5 separate regions of the Homo sapiens genome follow, and regions 1, 2, 4 and 5 are each linked to region 3. Evidence: promoter capture Hi-C in 16 types of primary human blood cells and fetal thymus (Javierre and others, 2016). All regions are on one chromosome and are shown on one strand. Each heading gives the region's core, a stretch centred on a gene start or on the middle of the fragment in contact. The rest is flanking DNA. Distances are from core to core; before and after follow the strand shown. Region 1 overlaps CEP57 (centrosomal protein 57). Region 2 has its middle 49 kb from the start of FAM76B. Region 3 holds the start of CWC15 (CWC15 spliceosome associated protein). Region 4 has its middle 72 kb from the start of FAM76B. Region 5 has its middle 24 kb from the start of FAM76B.

The links. The method cuts DNA at HindIII sites, captures the fragments that hold promoters and counts their contacts. A CHiCAGO score of 5 or more calls a contact.
Region 1: a fragment that was not itself captured here is called in contact with the fragment with the promoter of CWC15 in region 3 in 1 of 17 cell types (non-activated CD4 T cells); the score reaches 8.7 in non-activated CD4 T cells.
Region 2: a contact is called between a fragment that was not itself captured here and the fragment with the promoter of CWC15 in region 3, in 2 of 17 cell types (total CD4 T cells and M2 macrophages). The highest score is 5.9, in total CD4 T cells.
Region 4: a contact is called between a fragment that was not itself captured here and the fragment with the promoter of CWC15 in region 3, in 3 of 17 cell types (activated CD4 T cells, non-activated CD4 T cells and M2 macrophages). The highest score is 6.9, in activated CD4 T cells.
Region 5: a contact is called between a fragment that was not itself captured here and the fragment with the promoter of CWC15 in region 3, in 2 of 17 cell types (naive CD8 T cells and monocytes). The highest score is 6.8, in naive CD8 T cells.

What each region holds. Positions count from the first base shown.
Region 1 is chr11:95,799,261-95,803,013 of GRCh38, forward strand. It overlaps CEP57 (centrosomal protein 57), which reads left to right. Exons shown (of 11, transcript NM_014679.5): 2 at 1-128. Among named protein-coding and RNA genes, the nearest start is that of CEP57, 11 kb to the left of the region's middle. The HindIII fragment of the contact is 2,015 bases long and covers 598-2,612 here.
Region 2 is chr11:95,738,859-95,742,816 of GRCh38, forward strand. No RefSeq gene overlaps it. Among named protein-coding and RNA genes, the nearest start is that of FAM76B, 49 kb to the right of the region's middle. The HindIII fragment of the contact is 8,213 bases long and covers 1-3,958 here.
Region 3 is chr11:94,971,099-94,975,018 of GRCh38, forward strand. CWC15 (CWC15 spliceosome associated protein) reads right to left here and starts at 2,458. Exons shown (of 7, transcript NM_016403.4): 1 at 2,400-2,458; 2 at 957-1,095; 3 at 277-389. The coding sequence starts at 1,087. KDM4D (lysine demethylase 4D) reads left to right here and starts at 2,611. Exons shown (of 3, transcript NM_018039.3): 1 at 2,611-2,970. RefSeq lists enhancers at 1,735-2,510, 2,225-2,394, 2,715-2,864. The HindIII fragment of the contact is 9,854 bases long and covers 1-3,920 here.
Region 4 is chr11:95,715,662-95,719,691 of GRCh38, forward strand. No RefSeq gene overlaps it. Among named protein-coding and RNA genes, the nearest start is that of FAM76B, 72 kb to the right of the region's middle. The HindIII fragment of the contact is 2,739 bases long and covers 283-3,021 here.
Region 5 is chr11:95,763,823-95,767,625 of GRCh38, forward strand. No RefSeq gene overlaps it. Among named protein-coding and RNA genes, the nearest start is that of FAM76B, 24 kb to the right of the region's middle. The HindIII fragment of the contact is 5,772 bases long and covers 1-3,803 here.

The sequences.
Region 1 (3,753 bases), core at 355-2,854, 830 kb after region 3:
TGGAAGCATGGTTCGGCATTCTTCATCTCCATATGTAGTATATCCTTCGGATAAGCCTTTCCTTAATAGTGATCTACGACGCTCCCCAAGTAAGCCTACACTTGCCTATCCAGAAAGCAACAGCAGAGGTAATCGAGCCTAACGAAATAAATGTTATTTGTGTTTTCTTGCTGCTTTAAAATTCTTAACTTTGTCCTCCATTATTTTGCCATTAGAGGAAAATATATTTCCCCTTTGCTTCCAGTTTCAGCCCCCAGAAAATATTATGCTTTTCTTGTATTCCTTATATTGATTGTTGAACATCATCATCCACCAAATTACTGATGCTAAAACACTTTGAGTCATCAGTGACTGCTCTGTAATCCCCACTATTAGTCCGGAATGAAGACCTTTTTTTGCTTCTGAAATATACCAAAAGCATACTGTTTTTTCTGCCTTTTTGTGTTCTCATTGCTTTGGTTCAGGCTTTCATCATCTGTAGCCCAGATGTTCATAGTACATTCCTCATTAATCTCCCTGCCTGTTTTCTCCTCCTCATCCCCAGTTAACAACATTTCTGTCATTTGTCATTATCCATCATCTCTCCCACAAAATTAAAGCTTTAGCATCTCTTCATAGCTTACATAATAAATTCTTAATTTTTCATAACCTAGACCCTATATGCCTCACCAGCTTCATCCCTAACTTGTCTTCTGTTTTTTCCTTTCCCATCCTTTGCTCTGGCTACTTTGAAATACATTTATTCCTGGAACCTGCCATCTGTATTAGTTTTCTTGTCGCCTTAACAAATTGCCATGAACTTAGCTTTAAATATTTGTTATCTCAGTTTTCTGTAGGTCGGAAATCTGTGTAGGCTTATCTGGGTCCTCTGTTTAGAGCCTTACAAGGCTGAAATCAAGGCTTTGCTTGGGGCTCTGTTCTTTACTAGAGGCTCTGGGGAAGATCTGCTTCCAAGCTCATTAAGATTCTTAGCCAAATTCAGTTCCTTGTCATTGCAGTACTGAGATTCTGTTGCTTTGCAGACTTTTACTTGAGGACAGTCTTTGCTCCTAGAAACTGTCCTCCTTCCTTCATGTTTCCCTTATTGTCTCCTACGGTAACAGTAGGTAGTCTCTCATGTTTCTTTTTTTTTTTTATTTTTTATTGTTTTTTTGGAGACAGAGTCTCACTCTGTCACCAGGCTGGAGTGCAGTGGCGGGATCCCGGCTCACTGCAACCTCCGCCTCCTGGATTCAAGCTATTGCTATTCTCTTGCCTCAGCCTCCTGAGTAGCTGGGACTACAGACGCGCCCAGCTAGTTTTTGTATTTTTAGTAGGGACGAGGTTTCACCATGTTGGCCCAGATGGTCTCAATCTCTGGACCTCGTGATCCACCCGCCTTGGCCTCCCAAAGTGCTGGGATTACAGGCATGAGCTACCGCGCCTGGCCAAGTCTCTTATGTTTCAAATCTCTCTGAGTTCTGTTGTTACATTTCTCTAACCACAGCGGGAGAAAATTTTCTGGTTATGTTATCAGATTGGGCCCACTCAGATAATGAAAAGATGGTTTTGATATTGAATTTGTTAATCGTCTTTTAGATGTTTCTTCATCTGTATCTTTTAAAATACACCTACCTCATACTTTGTGTGAAGTTTAAATGAAATATCTTTGCTTTATTTGGGATGCTGTGGCATTTCCTTTTTTTGAAAGTTGTGTTTAATCACTAATATTGCAACAATTCTATGTGTTAATGATTCTCTAGGTAAAAGAAATATTTTTGACATCGTAGGCTAAACAGGCATTTGTAAATTAGTTGAGGAACATTTTTTGTTTCAGTTGGGATATATATTGTAAGTATCCTAAAAATCTCAGAATGAACCTGTTTTGTAAACTGGACTGATTGTACAGTAAAATACCAAGTAGGTAATGATATCCAAATACCAGCTTAAATCCTAACCTATAATGGGTGCTGAAAAGTGTTTACTGAAATAAAAGTAACTAAATAGTGTGATGTCTTTTAAGAATTTTAGTACTCTGTAATCACTAACCTAGAAGCCTCTTTATTATAAGATACTGTGTCTCGATGATAACGAAAATTTTTAATTAATGGTTAAAGCAACTGATAAGGTTCTACACATCAGAGTATAGCAGGTTGGCAATTTAAGAAAATTAAGTTGCATGACATTCAAACAACATAGATTTTAAAAAGCAAAAAAAAAAAAAAAAAAATGACTGAAGCCCACAGTAGAGCAAAAATCAGTTGCAGTAAGTTTCTTATTCAAAAATAAGCACAAAACAAAATATCCATTTACAAAGTTCTAACAGGAACACAAAATCTAAGAATTAGATATTAATCCTTCAACTATAATATTGTATCTAGTTCTGATCTTTACACCCATGAAAGGAAACTTTTAAAAAGTTCAAAAAAATGACAAATTACTAGCAAAGAATAAGAAATATTAAGAAGGCAGATTTATTCACCGAGAATCAGAAAAATTTTAGCACAGCATGTTACTAATAGAGCTAAATTCTGCTTGAGTGCAACATCAGTGGTTTTAAGGAATAAAAGAGAAGTGAGACAAGCAGGGAGGAGACGGAGAGGAGAAATAAACAAGATAAAAAGTAACCTTTAAGCTTTTATGCCTTTAGAGCATGATGCGGTGAACTATTTAAGCAATGTCCCAGGATAATTATTATAATCCATTATCCTTTTATAGTGTTTTAATCCAACGATACTTACTTTCCAAATGGGAAGGAAAGACACAGAAATCACTATCCCCTTCTCACCCAGAAAAAAAATAAAGGCTGTGAGATATGAACAAAGACCAAGAGAGTTCAGAAAAGACATTTGTTGGGGATAGGGATAAGTGTGTTGGGGAGGTTAAAGGAGAGGAAAACCTCTCAGAGGAAAAACGAAATAATAGATAATCTGAGTTTTAAAGAATGAGCACAGTTCTATAAGAAGAAAAGTTCAACAAGAGTACAGCATGTGAAAGGTTTATAAACGTGACATGATTTTTTTTTTTTTTTTTTTGAGACAGTCTCACTCTGTCACCCAGGCTGGAGTGCGGTGGCATGATCTTGGCTCACTACAACCTCTGCCTCCCAGGTTCAAGCAATTCTCCTGCCTCAGCCTCCTGAGTAGCTGGGATTACAGACACATGCCACCACACCTGGCTAATTTTTGTATTTTTAGTAGAGACAGGGTTTAACCATGTTGGCCAGGATGGTCTCGATCTCTTGACCTCGTGATCCGCCCACCTCAGCCTCCCAAAGTGCTGGGATTACAGGTGTGAGCCACCGTGCCTGGCAAACCTGACATGATTTTTATTGCTTCATCAAGGACATTGTGGCTTAGTTTTTCTTACTGGGAATTTATGACAGTGAAGAATACAATGCCTAAAATAGTAGTTTAGTGTTACTACCTTGATTTGAGCTAAAATTAGGAATTTTACCCAACATTGCTTTTGCATGATCATTGGCAAACTTCAACACAGTGAAAAAAGTGAAGTCTTACTATTAATAGTATTATGAAAATAGTGTTGACCTCACAGGCCCTGGGAAAGGCCTCATGAGCTCTGCCCTCAATGTGCCTATGCCCCATATTTTGAGAACCACTGTAATCAAGGATATGAGTATGTCCAGAGTAGTATTTTGTTCATGTAAATACTTTTTTACCAGGTGTGAGAAGAATGTAGATAGTAGCATTTGTTCCAGAATCTAGATGATAGCTCCTTGAGGCCAAAGACAGTCTTCACGCCTTGCAGAGTGCT
Region 2 (3,958 bases), core at 1,276-3,775, 770 kb after region 3:
TCAGCAAAGTCACTTGCTCATTGTGGCCTTGGCAAAGCTATATAAGCACTCCAGGCCTCAGTGCCATCATTCCAAAAAAGTAAAGACATGTCTTAGAACAGTTATGCAGATGATATAAAGCAATCTATATAAAGTATTTAATGTAATAAATAATATATAGGTGCTTGATAAGTGCTGGTGCCCTTATATAAGATTGATAATTTTATTACCTTCTTTTAGAGAGTACCAACACATGTAAGGCTGCCCAGGATGCTGAAAAATCCTGCACTACAGAAATGCATTCAACCTTGTTCAGTGCAGAACCTCTCAGATGAATTTCACCAAAAGCTCTTTTTTAAGGGGTTTTAAAATTATTCTTAACATCAAGACGAACACTTTGGGCCACACTACCACAGGTCTGTGAATTTAGCTGAGGGCAACTCACACCCCTAGTGGCCATCAAGCCCTAAAGGAAGATGCAATTCAGAAATATACCCCCATTTGGCTGGTGGGTCACTTCTGAAGTCTGAGTCCAGCTTCCCTTCACCATCTGTCTTTTAATGTCCAGTACTAAGCACAGGCCTTAGTTAATTGAACATGCAAAGTGGAACCCACAGGCAATGATCTCAGTATATATTTTGACTCATCATCCAAAGAAATCAGAGATGAAAGCAACATCTAATGGCTGAGAATACATAAATAGCCATTTCCACTCACTTTCAATTACCCTGCAGAGGAATCTGGTCACAGATGAGCTCAGTAAATTCACAATATGTTATCCTCAATAGCTAAGCTGAGCAAAATCACCCAATTTGTTAGAACATTAATCCTCTAAAAGCCTGCCAACCCTAATCATTTTATGGCTTCACATTGCTTAATGGTAAAGATAAGAGGATCCCCAGGGATGCCCAGGTGTGACCTTCAGTGAGTCAAGTGCAGACAGTCTCCTGAGAATGTAGATGGATATTGTATGGCCTAAATATCCAGCCTATAGCTAGTGTGGTCAGTGTTCTAACTCTCCTCTGCACTATGTGCCTTTCACAGTCATCCTGGAGGAATTTCCAGTCCTTTGAAACTGGGGATTACAATGTATTTATTTCTGAATCCCCAATGATTGGCATAATATCAGATACCTGGAAGTCACACATTTAACAAATATTTGTTAAATGAAAAATCAAATAAGTGATAGTAGGCAGTTACCTTCAGCAAATACACTCACCATACATATGTACATACATAAAGGATGGGGTTCTTTTTTATATTTCTCAATCTGAACTGGGAGGTGAAGTCTCTCTTTGCTTGATTCTACCTGTGAGGGGAATCGTTCTGAAGTGCTGATACCTTAAGAGCACAACTGGCAGAATTGTGGAAAGCACCATAATCTACAGGTTTAAATCTTAGGTCTGTCTCTTAGTAGCTGTGTGACTTTGGGCAAGCTAGTTATTCTTTCTGTGTCTCAATGACCAAACTGTCAGATAGGAGTGATAATCAAGGTTGTCATGAGATAGGAATAAATTATATGCAGCTATGCATCACATAACAATGCTTCTGCCAACAACAGACTGCATATGCAATTATGGTCCCACAAGATTATAATGGAGCTGCCCTATACAGATATACCATTATTTTATCTCTTGCGCTGTATTTTTACTGTATTTTTTCTATGTTTAGGTATGTCTAGATACACAAATACTTACCATTATGTTACAATTGCCTACAGCATTCAGTTTAGCAGCATGCTGTACAGGTTTGTAGCCAAGCAGCAACAATAGGCTGGACCACCATATAGCCTAGATGTGCAGTAGGCTATTACTATCTAGGTTTGTGTAAGTACACTCTATGATATTCACATAATGATAAATGTGCCTAATAATCCATTTCTCAAAGGACATTTTCATCATTAAATGATGCATAACTATATATATAAAATATATATGTGTGTGCACACACACAAATATCTGTATGCAGCATGTGTCTTTATATATGACATATACTATATATATATATATATATATATATATATATATATGAAAGAAATGTGTAGTACACAATGAACACAATATAAGCCTGGGCTATTACTGTTGAAAGGTTGGGAGTAGAACACTAAGGAGTTTATGCACCCTTGCTCCCATGAAAATTGTTCTTTCTTTCTTTCTTTCTTTTTTTTTTTTTTTTTTTTTTGAGACAGAGCTTCGCCTTTGTTGCCCACGCTGGAGTGCAATGGCATGATCTCGGCTCACTGCAACCTCTGCCTCCCAGGTTCAAGCGATTCTCCTGCCTCAGCCTCCCAAGTAGCTGGGACTACAGGCATGCACCACCACACCCGGCTAACTTTTGTGTTTTTAGTAGAGATGGGGTTTCACCATGTTGCTCAGGCTGGTCTCGAACTCGCGACCTCAGGTGACCTGCCTGCCTCGGCCTCCCAAAGTACTGGGATTACAGGCATGAGCCACTGCACCCAGCCTAAATTGTTCTTTCTTAATGCTTTGTTCCCTTTTGGTATCTCTTAAAACTCACTTCTCACAATGTAAATGCAGCATGAGGAGCTAAAATCCTGACAAGGGATAGCATATATTTGTCTGGCCTTTCCCTCTACTCAGATTTCTCTGGGACCTATAGAAGTGTTGTCTGGTCAAGAATATTAGTTACCATATGACAGACTTTTGCACTTTTGCCTTCCCTTTTCTTCATCCTGGGGATATCTCATCACATCACCCACTGCTCAAAGGGCATGATAAATTCTAGCCAGGCAAAGCCCCCATCGCTGTACCAAAGGAGCTATATTCTCCTCCTAACCTAAATAGTGAATCAGTGTAACATAAACTTATATGACTAGTAAAATGGTTGCTGCTAGCTGACCAGCGGTCCTGTCAGGGAGTCATGCATTGTCGTGGTCTTTCAAATCAACTTAAGGTATGAATTATACACAATAAAGTGCACCTATTTCTTATATTTATATGTGAATGAGATTTGACAAATGTATAACCTCTATAACTACCACAGTCATCAATACATTTCCATCATCCCAAAAAGTTCCCTTGTCCCCTTGGTAGCAAATTATCGCCACCCTAGTCCCCAAGCAACCACTTATCTGTCACTTTAGTTGAGTTTTTGTCTTTGCTAAAATTTCGTACGTTTGCTTTTGTGTATTTTCTTTCATTCAGTTTATTTTTGAGTCATTTATGTGTTACATGTTTAAGTACTTTGCTCTTTTTTATTGCTAAGTAGTAATCCAGTGTGTGAATATACTATAATTTGTTTATTTATCAACCTAGTCATAGACATTTGAGTTGTTTGCTTTTTTTTTTTTTTTTTTGGCTGTTATGAATAAAGCTGCTATGAACATTCATGTAAAATTTTTTATGTGGACATATGCTCTCTTTCTCCTGTGTAGATTCCTAAACAGCATTGCTGGTCCTATGATAATTGTATTTTAACTTTATAAGAATATGCCAGACTGTTTTCCAAAGTGTTCTATCATTTTATATTCTCATAACTAATTTATGAGTTACAGTAGCTCCACATTTTGTAAATACTTCGTATTGTCAATCTCTTTAATTTTAGTAATTCTAGTGAATCCGTGATTGTATCTCATTGTGGTTTTTTTTTTTTTTTTTTTTTTGAGACGGAGTCTTGCTCTGTCGCCCAGGCTGGAGTGCAGTGGCGCGATCTTGGCTCACTGCAAGCTCCGCCTCCTGAATTCACGCCGTTCTCCCACCTCAGCCTCCCGAGTAGCTGGGACTACAGGCGCCCGCTACCATGCCCAGCTAATTTTTTTGTATTTTTAGTAGAGACGGGGTTTCACCGTGTTAGCCAGTATGTTCTCGATCTCCTGACCTCGTGATCCGCCCGCCTCGGCCTCCCAAAGTGCTGGGATTACAGGCGTGAGCCACCGCGCCAGGCCCTCATTGTGTTTTAATTTGCACTCCCTGATGATTAGTGATGTTCAGCATCTTTTCATGTGCTTATTGGCCATTTG
Region 3 (3,920 bases), core at 1,208-3,707:
AACAAATACTTCATTTCTTAAAATGTTTTAGGGACCTGTGAGCACAAGGAGCCCACATTAAAAGCATTATCCACAGTGAACTCACATCCACAGTGCCTGGGCAAATAAGCCTTTGGTAAATATTTGTTGTTATTATCTCTAATGACCTAAGAAAGTAGTACAGCTCACATCAATCTGTAAAAGTAAACAAATGGTTAACATTTTCCAATTGCTACATAAAGAAAAACTATCAACAACATAATTTTATGAGACAAATGTCTTGGATAGTGTTGGTACCTCGGGTTGGACGATCCCTATTTTTCTCTCTTGCAGCAGCTCTCTCTCTTTCTTCCAACTCTCTCCTGAAGTCACGGTTACGAACCTCTTCAGGGGCATCCTGAGTAGTCTGTCTAAAGTAGAAACAAACCAGGGCAAAAATGTTACTTAAACACACACACACACACACACAGAGACTGTAGTAATGGAAGACAATTCAGGAATGAGACTTTGTCCTTCAAGCAGAAAAAAGGGAAGTAGACAAGATCATAATTTAATCTGAAGGTTACTAACAGCCACTCTTGTGATGTTCCCAATATTTCAAGAAGTCCAAATTCAATCACATATTTTCCTATAATAAGGCTTTACAGTGATTAAAATGTCTTTAATTTTTATTAGGATTATATCAACTCAGAACTTAACAGTAATACTTTTAATATACTGACTGGTGCTCATAGTGCATACTCTGAGGCATTATTATTTCTATTATTTATTGTTCTATCTACATATGAAAATTCCTGGTTAGTAGGAATTTCACATTTTAAAATCACAGCAGAATTTTAGTGTTAAACATCCTATTGCATTCTATTCCTATGAAAATAGATAAGTGACATAACTCAAACATACTACTATATCATGACCATGCCATTTAACAGATCTGGTCTTGTTTTGTGAACAATAAAAAAAGAAAGTCTTACTACCTGTATTTTATCTTTGTATGAGAGGGTAGGTCTCTGCTTGAATACTGCTTTGAAAGTTGGCTCAAATCACCTTCTCCTTTTCCCCTTCCACCTCTGGCAGGTTCAAAGGTTGGCCTGGCTGCTGTTGTCATCTTTTATGCTTTGAAGAAAAATATAATCAAGTTATTTCCAACATTACAAACACTCATTTTATAGAGTATTAATCAATATCCATACTGGTAAAATAAGTTCTAAAACTCATTCCCCAAAACCTGCTTAATCTTCTTAAACAAAAGTTTTCAAGAAAACAAATTATGAGGCTTAGGCTGTACAAGGAATATGGCTTCTCAGGCTTGCCTTAGTACAAAAAATTCTGTCATGAAGATCTGAGTTTGCATCCCTATTCTCCTTCTGACTATATGGGCTTGAGCAAGTCACCTGGCTTAACTTTGTCATCTGTGGAATGGAGATATTCCTCATAGATTATAAGAATTATGACACTTGACATGTCAAAACCCTAGTAAAATACAGTACTGCCATGACTGAGTTTTAAAAATTTCCAACTCAACCTTACTCTACCAGACTCTGTAAGGTTTGCATTTTATCTAAACTTCACACAATAGCAAATAGGCTAGTAGAAACAAAAGCTAAAAACAAACAAAAAATATCACTGACAAAGTTACTAAATGTCCCAGAGAAAAGTGTGTTAAACTTCAATGACAGTTACACAGAAAAAAATTCTTAAACAACCGTTTGTTGAGCCAATTTTCTCCTACAACAGGCATCATACTATAAATTAGATCGTTTGTGGGTTATAATTTAAGGCCTGTTCAAAAAAAACAGGAACCTCACCCCCAGAGGATTCTGATGCCAAAAATCAGGGACTCATTCCTCAAGTTACTTTCTGCTTGGAGCAGTCACAAGAATACTGTGCAGCAGATGCAGTCACTAAAACCCTGTTAGTGTCGGAAAAGCAAGTGTGTGGGGAGGGTGGGCGAATTGGGAGGATTTTTTGGGGGGGGGGCGATGCTAATTCTCTCAACTTTCAAAAAGGGTAGAGACATGTATACAAAGAAGAAAACAGGGTTATCTGGCGCTGGGGGCGCCGCCCCTTCCCACACACCCACGGAATTATCACTCCGGCCTCCCGTGAGCTAGTCTTTGGCTATAACCAGAAACTCGCTGCCTCTTCACCCGTGCCCAGCACTGCAGGGGTGCGAAGGGTAGTGAAGGGAGGACCTGGGGTTCGCTTTACGCAGTAGGCGAGCTGCCTGTACGCTGCGATCTCCTCGGCGGGCCCAAGAGCTCCAGACGCGCCTGACAGGCACTCGGTTCCGCCCCTAGCCCGCTGCTCCAGGGCCTCCACCGCCCGCGCTCTGCACTCTGCCGCCGACTCCGACCCCAACTGCCCTTTCCCGTCCCATCGCGATAAGAAAGATAATCTCCTATCCTCTTGCCGCTCACACTGGCCGAGGTCCGATGCAGCAGGCTCCGAAGATCATACAGACGCCATTACCACTCTTGGCTCCCAGAAACCTCTGCGCCCAGAGCTAGCGCCTACGACCCGGAAGCAAAATCCAAGCGCTTCGGGGGCGGAAGCAACGACCAATCCGCAGTGGCCGAAGTGGAAGTCGGCGTAACGGCACTAAGGGGCGGGGCCGAAGCGGCCCAGGGGGCGGGCGTTTGAAATCAGTGCCTTAGAGTAGACCCTAAACCTCATTTTATACCTTCAAGAACCAATTACTTAATGTCTCTTCCGTCTTTTCCGTCCCCGACCCCCTCCCAGACTCCTTCATTCCGGTACTGCGTGGACGGAAAGCCCCGGGTAGCCGACACCACGTCCCCGGCTAGCGGGAGAGAGCGTGGAAAAGGATTACACCAAACTGTTTAAATCCAACGACTCCTGCTTCCATCCTTTCTCCTGAGCTAGAACCAACAAACCTAGAGAGTTGGGCTTCGGAAAAACTAGTGTTTTCATTTAATTGGATATGAAGAAAGAACAAATATGTACGGGGCAACCACGATCTTTACAAAGGTACCATTCCTGCAAAAATATTAACACTTCAAAGCAAAGGTTGTATTCGTAATGTTTGCTAAAATTTCTTATTTAAAAAACGTTAGTTTTAGTGGGAGGGGAGATGTCAGTATTTACGAGAGCGTTTACAATGGTGGGCCCAACTACCAGGAGCACAAGATGTAATTATTAAGATGGCTACTTAAGTGTTAAGTTTTAATAAGACAACGAAAAGTAGAAAACCCGAAAACCAAAAACCTACCAGTCGTCTCTCCTCCCTTCCATAAAAACAAATTCTGAGAATAGAGATCTTGGTTGTTTAGCTCATCTTGGTATCTCATCACATAGACCTTGACGTATAGTAGCTGCTCAATTAATATTTGTTAAACAAATGAAAATTCAACTTCCCCAACTTAGTTTAAAATGTAAGGAACTCACAAAATTGAATATTTAAATGCTTTCTTACCCCTAAATTCTTTGCAACTTTTTAATGAAGAAAGAAAAGCAGAAAAAGCCCTTTCAGTCATAGAGTTCAAGATGAAAATCCTGATTTTTCTTACCGAAGGTATCCCTCCTCCAGTCTTAACAAGTCTCACTAAAAGACGCGATCATCATGCTAGTTACTCAAACCAAAATCCCGGAGTGCCTACTTAAATTCCTTTTCATTCACTCTTCACATACGGTTCATTTACAGGTCTTAACAATTCTACTTTTAAAACTCACCCGCAATTTTATTCTACTGCCACTACCCTTGCCTTTGCCAACACCATCTCCTACCTGGATTGTAATTGCTTCCTATTATATCTTCCTGCGTCATCTTTTATCCTACAGTCAGTGTTGCATATAGCCAAGAGAGTGATCTTTTAAAATTAATAAAATGGTGTTACTATCCTGTGTACAATTTCACTGCACTTAGAATAAAAATCACATTTCTTAATGTGACCTGAGACCCCACGGAGTCTGGTTCCTGC
Region 4 (4,030 bases), core at 402-2,901, 740 kb after region 3:
TAATTGCCTAGTAGGAAGTGAAAACAAATGATATTTCAAGCTTTCTTTTACCCTATGACTTTAAGGAAAAACAATAACAACCATAAAACACCACCACCTACGACAACAGTCTTCTGTGTTTTCCCATGCATTCAAATGAGCTAAAAAGTGATAAATGCATTGCAAGTAAAATAGCTATGCAGCACTCTTGGGAAATGTGGTTCCACGGAGATGCCACAGAGACTTTCATTGTAAAGCCTGGTACTGAAGTTTGGACAAAGGTGTGTTTGTGTGCAGTGACTAAGCTTGTGTGGGAGGGAGGCAACCACTGCAGATGGCTGAAAAATATGCTAATGTTGAAAGACCCATGTGATGGCTGGCATCCTGAAAGAGACACAGATGTTTCCTCCCAAGAAGAATTTTAGAACAAGTGGCTTGCTGACCTATTCAGGCTTGATTCCTTAACTGCATCTCAGGGTCATACACACGTCAGAACCACTGAGACAATTGTCCTCCTCACTTTGTACCCCAGGAAAGAGATAGAGCAGCTAATTAATCACAAGGCCTTTGCTGATAATACCTTTCATTTGAAATTTTTGTTGTTTTTGTTTTTAAGATGTTTTCATGTTCTCTGAGACTTGCTTTCAGAATGCTGCCTCTGTTCACATGCTGGGTCTCCTACAGTGCTCACATTGCTCCACTCTCTGTACGTTTTGTTTTTTTTCCCCATAAAAACCATCCCTCTTATATTCACTTTTTAAGTCTTTCTTTTCCCCACTAAACTATATGCTCATTTCATGGCAGGGAGCATGACTAACTTGTTAACCACAAAATCCCAAGAGCCCAACATAATGCAAGATACATAGAAGTCTCTCAAAAACATCTTTTCTCAGCACTCCTGAGAATACCTACAAGACATTCTCAGATATACTAGAGAGGCAGAGCGTAGATTGTCTTGTATTAGTCTACTTAAACAAGATTGTTCATTCCTTCATTTATTCAACAAAACTTCGGGGGTTTATATCATGTGTCAGGCACTGCTCTAAATGACCAGGATGCTGCAATAAAAAGAACAACAAAAAAAATTCCCATCCTTATGGGTTTAGGGTGTTAACATCAATATATTTTTAAAAGAAATTGAAAAAAACCCAGGTACTTCGACTACAAAAATCATTTTGTTTGCAGATTACCTAACACTGCTAACTCAAGTTCCTGGGTCTATAGAAGAAAAATAAAATTAAAAATTAAAAAACAGCCGGGCGCAGTGGCTCACGACTATAATCCTAGCACTTTGGAAGGCCAACACGGGCAGATTACCTGAGGTCAGGAGTTCGAGACCAGCCTGGTCAACATGGTGAAACCCTGTCTCTACTAAAAAAAAATACAAAAAAAAAAAATTAGCAAGGAGTGGTGGCACATGCTTGTAATCCCAGCTACTTGGGAGGCTGAGGCAGGAAAATCGCTTGAACCCAAGAGACAGAGGTTGCAGTGAGCCGAGATCATGCCACTGCACTCTAGCCTGGGCAACAGAGCGAGACTCTGTCTCAAAAAAATAAAAATAAATAAATAAATTAGTTAATTAATTAAAATTCAAAGACATTGCTAAGGATCTCACTAGTTTTCTTCTATCTTAATCAGGTAGGGATTGTCCCCATAAACAAGAAGAGTTCTAACCTGCAAAGCACAACTTAAAGAAATATAAATCTGCTGTAATGGATATGAAAGCTAACTGTGTACCACTCCATCCCCACCTTTCTGCTTCTGGCATTATAAGCTCTCCAATAGCTTTAGCATAAATTCACATGTCCTATTGTTTCTTGCCACCTCTCAGGGTTCTGAAGGAATAGGCACCAGGTTCTGATAAGAACAGAAACATCTGGAGTGTGGGAGTGTTCATCTAAAGAAAAAAAGTGAAAATAGCATGCATTGAACTGTTTGGTGTGCTAAGTAATGATTAGGGTTTTCACATACATTGTCTCATTTAATCTTTGCAATAAACAAACAACAAAGTACATCATATGCCCCCCTTTTATTTTCTACCAAAGAAGGAAATAGGGTAAGAGGTAGAGACGTACCTTTATGGATCTATAGAGAGATTTATGGCTTTTGTAATGGTCAGAGCACCTAAATCACTAATTAACTTCCTAGCAAATTTATAGGCTGACATAACAAGTGAATAAATGGTTTCACTAGATACTGAGGAATTTTATTGTTCATAACTTTGTGCCAAAAAAAAGAAATGGGAAACCATTAGATCAGAGAGAGTGGCCATCTACCTTCTATTCACCCAGGGAAGATTTTGTAGAAAAAATGGGAACTGGCTACAGTTGATACTATATAAAGAAATACTGACTTTTAAATTTCTTCACTCTCTTTCTTAACAGATTCTCTTTTTTTTTTTCTGTCCTTAAGGTCTCAAAGTTTTCTCCAGCTGAAAATACAGCTGCCTCATAGAAACACTGCATAAGAAAATTAATAACAATAAACCCCAGAGGAATCAGGGAAGTGGTGATAAGGCTGCTTTATGCTTTCCTTTTACCCAACTGAGAACTTCCTTTAGGCCTCACTTGCTGAATGCTAAGAGGCCAGGGAGGAGCACTAGGGAACATAGGAGAGAGACAGGATGGCGGGAAGCAGCGAACAGATATGGGAGCAAAGGGAATTTTAAAAAGAGGAAAGGTCTCTGGCCAGGGCTGGCCCAAGGAAAAAATTGAAGGTCAGCAGACGGGTTTTAACACAACCCTCTCCATCTCCCTGTCTATTACCTACAGTGTTTTCATCACCCTCAGCGCCTAGCCTCAGCTGCTCTAATTTCCCAGTTGCTCTAATTCCCATCCTCCCATCCACCTGAAACAACAAATGTTCCAGACCAAGAGTTAGTTTTGTGTTTACAGTAGAGCCTCATTTTGCACAAATGTAAGTCATGTTCTGATTTTAGAACCTAGTCTTGCCACTAGTTTTCTTTATCCTCAACCACAAACAAATCTATTAGCATGTATTAAGGCTATGGAAAAAAACAGACTGGACTATAACCAGCAGGCAAGCTTGAGAATGGACACTGCTCCCCATTCTCTTCCAGACAATTAATAGTTACTACAAAGGCAGAATGCTGTAAAGGGCCAGACACCAGCATATACACATTCTTTTTTCTTTGGTCTAGATCAATGGTAATCAAGTTTCAATATGCTTAATAATTACTGAATAGTAAATATCACAAAATCATTTACACTATAAATCATAGGTGATTTAAGGGCTTTTTTTTTTTTTTTTTTTCTGAGACAGGGTCTTACTCTGTCACCCAGGCTGGAGTGCAGTGGGCAATCTCGCCTCACTGCAACCTCCACCTCCTGGACTCTAGTAATTCTCGTGCCTCAGCCTCCCAAGTAGCTGGGATTACAGGCATGCACAACCAAGCCCTGCTAGTGATTTAAGGGTTTTTAAGTAAAATTTTGTCTCTGCAAAATTTTCATCTAGTTTTGACTTTTAAACATGCCCAGCTGAAAAAGGTCATCTCTACTATAATACATTTTTCTGGAGAGAAAATTATAGCATTTGAAATACTCTCTAAGGAGCCTATAACCACCAAAGATAAGAACAACTCCTCTTCCCATAACAAATCTCATCTGTCTCATGTCTTACTCTCTCAGGAATATCCTATTCCTCTGCTAAACTACTGCAGCTCAACCAGTGAATTAATCGGAGTTAAATTTTTCATGTTTCCTATACTTAAACAGCACCTATACTTTACATAAGACCTTAGTGCCTAAACCAAGGGATAAGGAACTGCGGGAAATTCCAAGCACTTTGGCAGAATCCGGAAGGGAAATACTTGAGTTAGGAAGTCAAACGCGTTTTTTAAAACCTCTTTAACCATGCCTTGTAGGTAAGGGCTTCCTCATCCTCCAGGAGTTTTGTTCTTGGCACACGCTGCCGACCTTACTGACAGCTCTCATGCCACAGCTGGTAAGTGACAGTAACAGTGGAATATTTGCCTGACTCTGAGGGATCTTTAGGGGAATGAAGTAGAAAGGGGAGCTGAAGAGAAGATACC
Region 5 (3,803 bases), core at 289-2,788, 790 kb after region 3:
ACGATCATTTAGGAGGCATTTAATACATGCGATGGCTTGATTCAAAGCCTATTTCTAGCCCAGGGGGTAATCCAAGCCTCAGCCTTGGTTTCATGGCTGCACAGGTTGTGTACTGTAGAATTCCAGGCTTCCAGGGGTGCATTGACAATGAAAAGCTCAATAATGCAGTGCCCATGTCATGTCTCTCTAGGAGACAATGGCTTAGTTGGAGATAGTAGGCTTCTGATTTAGAATTGATGATTTCTTAACCTATTATGTTACCCCTGGGTATACTGGGTGCAGGAACTTCCTCACAGATAGATGAAGGAGGGACCAAATAAATGTTGCACCTAGTGCATCAGTAGGACTGGATTTAGAGGGAAAGAAATGTGCACAAAAAAATCCAGTATGGAAATCTTTAAAGCAACTCCTTAAAATAGTATTTGCAAATTCAAAAACAATCCATTCAAAGACAAAATTATATTTTAAAACTCACTTTTATCGAATGGAAAAAAAAATGTACACTGGAATTGTGAAAAATAAATTGCATCTGAAAATGGGTTACCGTACATAATGAAACATTGTTACAAAGAGTATGAGGATGCTTGCTCTGATTACAGTGACTCCTGTAACAACGTGGCAAGTGAAAATACTGTATTATTTAGTAGTGAAGCCCTCCCCCTAGTGGAAATAGGTAGGAATTTTAAGAAAAAGGGTTAACACTTTTAAATACATTTTATTTCCTCTTAATATTTACAGAATTAAAGAAAAGAGGTGGAGAATAGCTGTAGTGTGGTATAAAGACTTTTCTTACAGGGCTTTTAGGCCATTATAAGAGCTGAGATGTAAAACTATTTTAGAGTTTTGAGTAGAGCAGCTGGTATGGTCTGAATGTTTGCATTCCCTCCCAAATTTATATGTTTTATTTTAATCACCAAGGTGATGGTATTAGAAAGTGAGGCCTTTTGGAGATGATTATGTCATGAGAAATCTGATCCAATGAATGGGATTAGTGCCCTTAAAAAAGAGGCCCCAGAGAGCTGCCTTGCCCTTTCCACCGTGTAAAGACACAGCAAGAAGGTTGTTTATGAGCATGGGTCCTTATCACACACAGAATCTACCAATTCCTTGATCTTGGACTTCCCAGCCTCTGCAACCATGAGATATAAATTTCTAATGTTCATAAGCTACCGAATCTAAGGTGTTATGTTATAGCAGTGCCAATGAACTAAGCAGGGGTTCTCAACCCTCGGCTGAGACTACTGACATTTTCAGTTAACAAATTCTTTATTGCATAGGGCTGTTTCGTGCATTGTCGAATATTTGGCAGCATCCCTGGCATCCACTCACTTGATGCTAGTAGCAACCTCTCCCCAACCCCACCAGTGTGATAATCAAAAATGTCTCCGGACATTGCCAAATATCCCCAGGGGAGCAAAATCACCCTCAGTTGAGAACCACTGGAATAGAGGGATAACATGACATGACATCTTTTAATAGGATCACTCTTTGTTGAGAACAGACTGCAGACAACAGAGATACCAGTTAGGATTGGAGATGACAAAAAAAAAAAAAAAAAAAAAAAGGTCAAACTTGAAGTTAGAGCTTGCAGAACTTTTCAAAGAACAGCCATGAAGTGGGAGAAAAAGAGTCAACAATATCATCAAGGATTTTGGCCTGTAACAACTAAAATTGAGTTGCCATTATCAGAGATGGGAAGATAGCAGAGTGGCTGCCTTGGTAGTTGTTTGGACTGGGGAGTGCAGATAAAGAGTACATCATTTTGGACGTGTAAAACTTGAGAGCCTTTGTAAGACACCCAGATGGAGATACCAAGTTTCATTGAATAGAAATTCTGGAAATTAGGGGGAGAGGTCTAGGCCGTTACTGTAAGTTTGGGAGTCATTAGGCTTATAGGTAATATTAATGAGTTTACCAAGAAAGCAAAAAAAGAGCCCTGAGCAACTCCAACCATTCCATGTAAGGGATAAGAGAAGGAACCAACAAAAGAAACTGAAAAGCATCACGAAAGGTAAGGGGTTAAAAAACGAAACAAAACAAACAAACAAAAAAAACAGGCAAATGTGATGTTCTAGAAGTCATGAACCTTTGGACATTTTTTCTCTTTACACAAAATGGTTTCATCTTAGTAAGTCCCTCCCTAATGTAAACATTTGTGAATATCTATACTTTATTATACTTTCTGCAATGATTTATTTACCTAGCTGTCTCTTCTAGATTATGAGCTCCTGGGAATAAGATTTATCTTTGCATCTTTGTAGTAATTAGCATAGTGACTGGTGCATAGCAGCACATAACACATGTTCAACTGATAATTAAATTTAACAGGAAATTCACCTCCCTGAAATGAAAATGTCTATACAGTAAGATATCACTCATTGAGATTCTCAATTAAAAATTAGCAAAAACTCAGATATAATTCAAATAACTGTGACATTTAAATTATGTCGCATCAAGGATCAAGGACACAGTACCAGCATCTGCCATGTTTGATCCTACTATGAAAGGGATACCAATCCTTGCCTCGACGTCAACCAGTGTATCAGCTTTTGTTTTATATATTGGGACTCTTGATAAGATTTTATTTAAAAAAAAAAGTTTCCATGGCTGAAAACTATGATGCCATTAATCAACCCTAATAGAATTTTCATCGACTGCATCAAGGGACATGCTCCAAAGTTGAAAAGGTAGTTAGCCTTTATATTACCTTATGTATTATTTTTAATTGATTAAAAGTCATATTATAAATCTATTATTATATTATGTAAAGTGCTTTGTGTATCAATACTTTACCTTAATGTTCATTAATAACTCTGTAATTACACAGATGAGGAAACTGAAACTCAGAGATATTAAGTACACCTCCAAGACACCTAGCTAGCAAATGGCAAAGTGGGATTTGAAACCTGACATTACACTAAAAAGTCGTCTTAAATATTTAATAGTGGTCTTAAATGCCTCACATGCACAGCTATGAAATGACAACAAATAATCGCTGTTGTTGTTTTAGTGTGGAAATTGTTTTTGTTAAGTAGGGGGAGAAAGGAAGAATGGAAACAGGAACCAGAATTACATTGTGGCATGATCATAGCCATTACTCACAATGCTGCAAGAAAACATATAAAACAGAAACAAATATGTCACCTGGGAGAACTGTGAGTGGTTTTTTCTTTTTTCTCCTGATTTTTGTGCTGTGCATTTTTTTTTTCAATAAGCATGTATTGTTCAAATTGAGCGTAACTTGGCAGGCAGGGGTGATGGTGGTAGTGTTACTTGTTATTAAGAAAAAATTTACACAAAAGTTGAATATAGTATAATAAACCACCATATAACTATCACCCAGTTTCAAAAATTAACAACTCACACCCAATCCTGTTTCATTTATATTCTCGTATCTCCCTCCCTATACTATTTTGAAGCAAATACCAATCATCATACCATTTCATTATAAATATTTTAGTAGGTGTCTCTAGGACTCTAAAAAGATAGCTGCAACACCATCATCACATCTGAAAAGTTAACAGTACTTAATTCCTTAAAATCATTACATAACCAGTGTTCAAATTTTCAGTTCTCATACATGTTAAAAATTTTTAATTTCTTGATTCCAGATCCATATCAGGGTCACATATTGTGACTGGTTTATATTAAGTACCTTTTATACTATAGGTTCTCCCTCCACTGATTCCCTCTGCTTGCAACTTATTGAACAACTGTGCCAACTGTATCCTTTTGGTGTCACTCAACATGATCTTCCATCCTTTCTATTTTTGGTTAATTGGTAGATGCTTCGTCAGATTTAG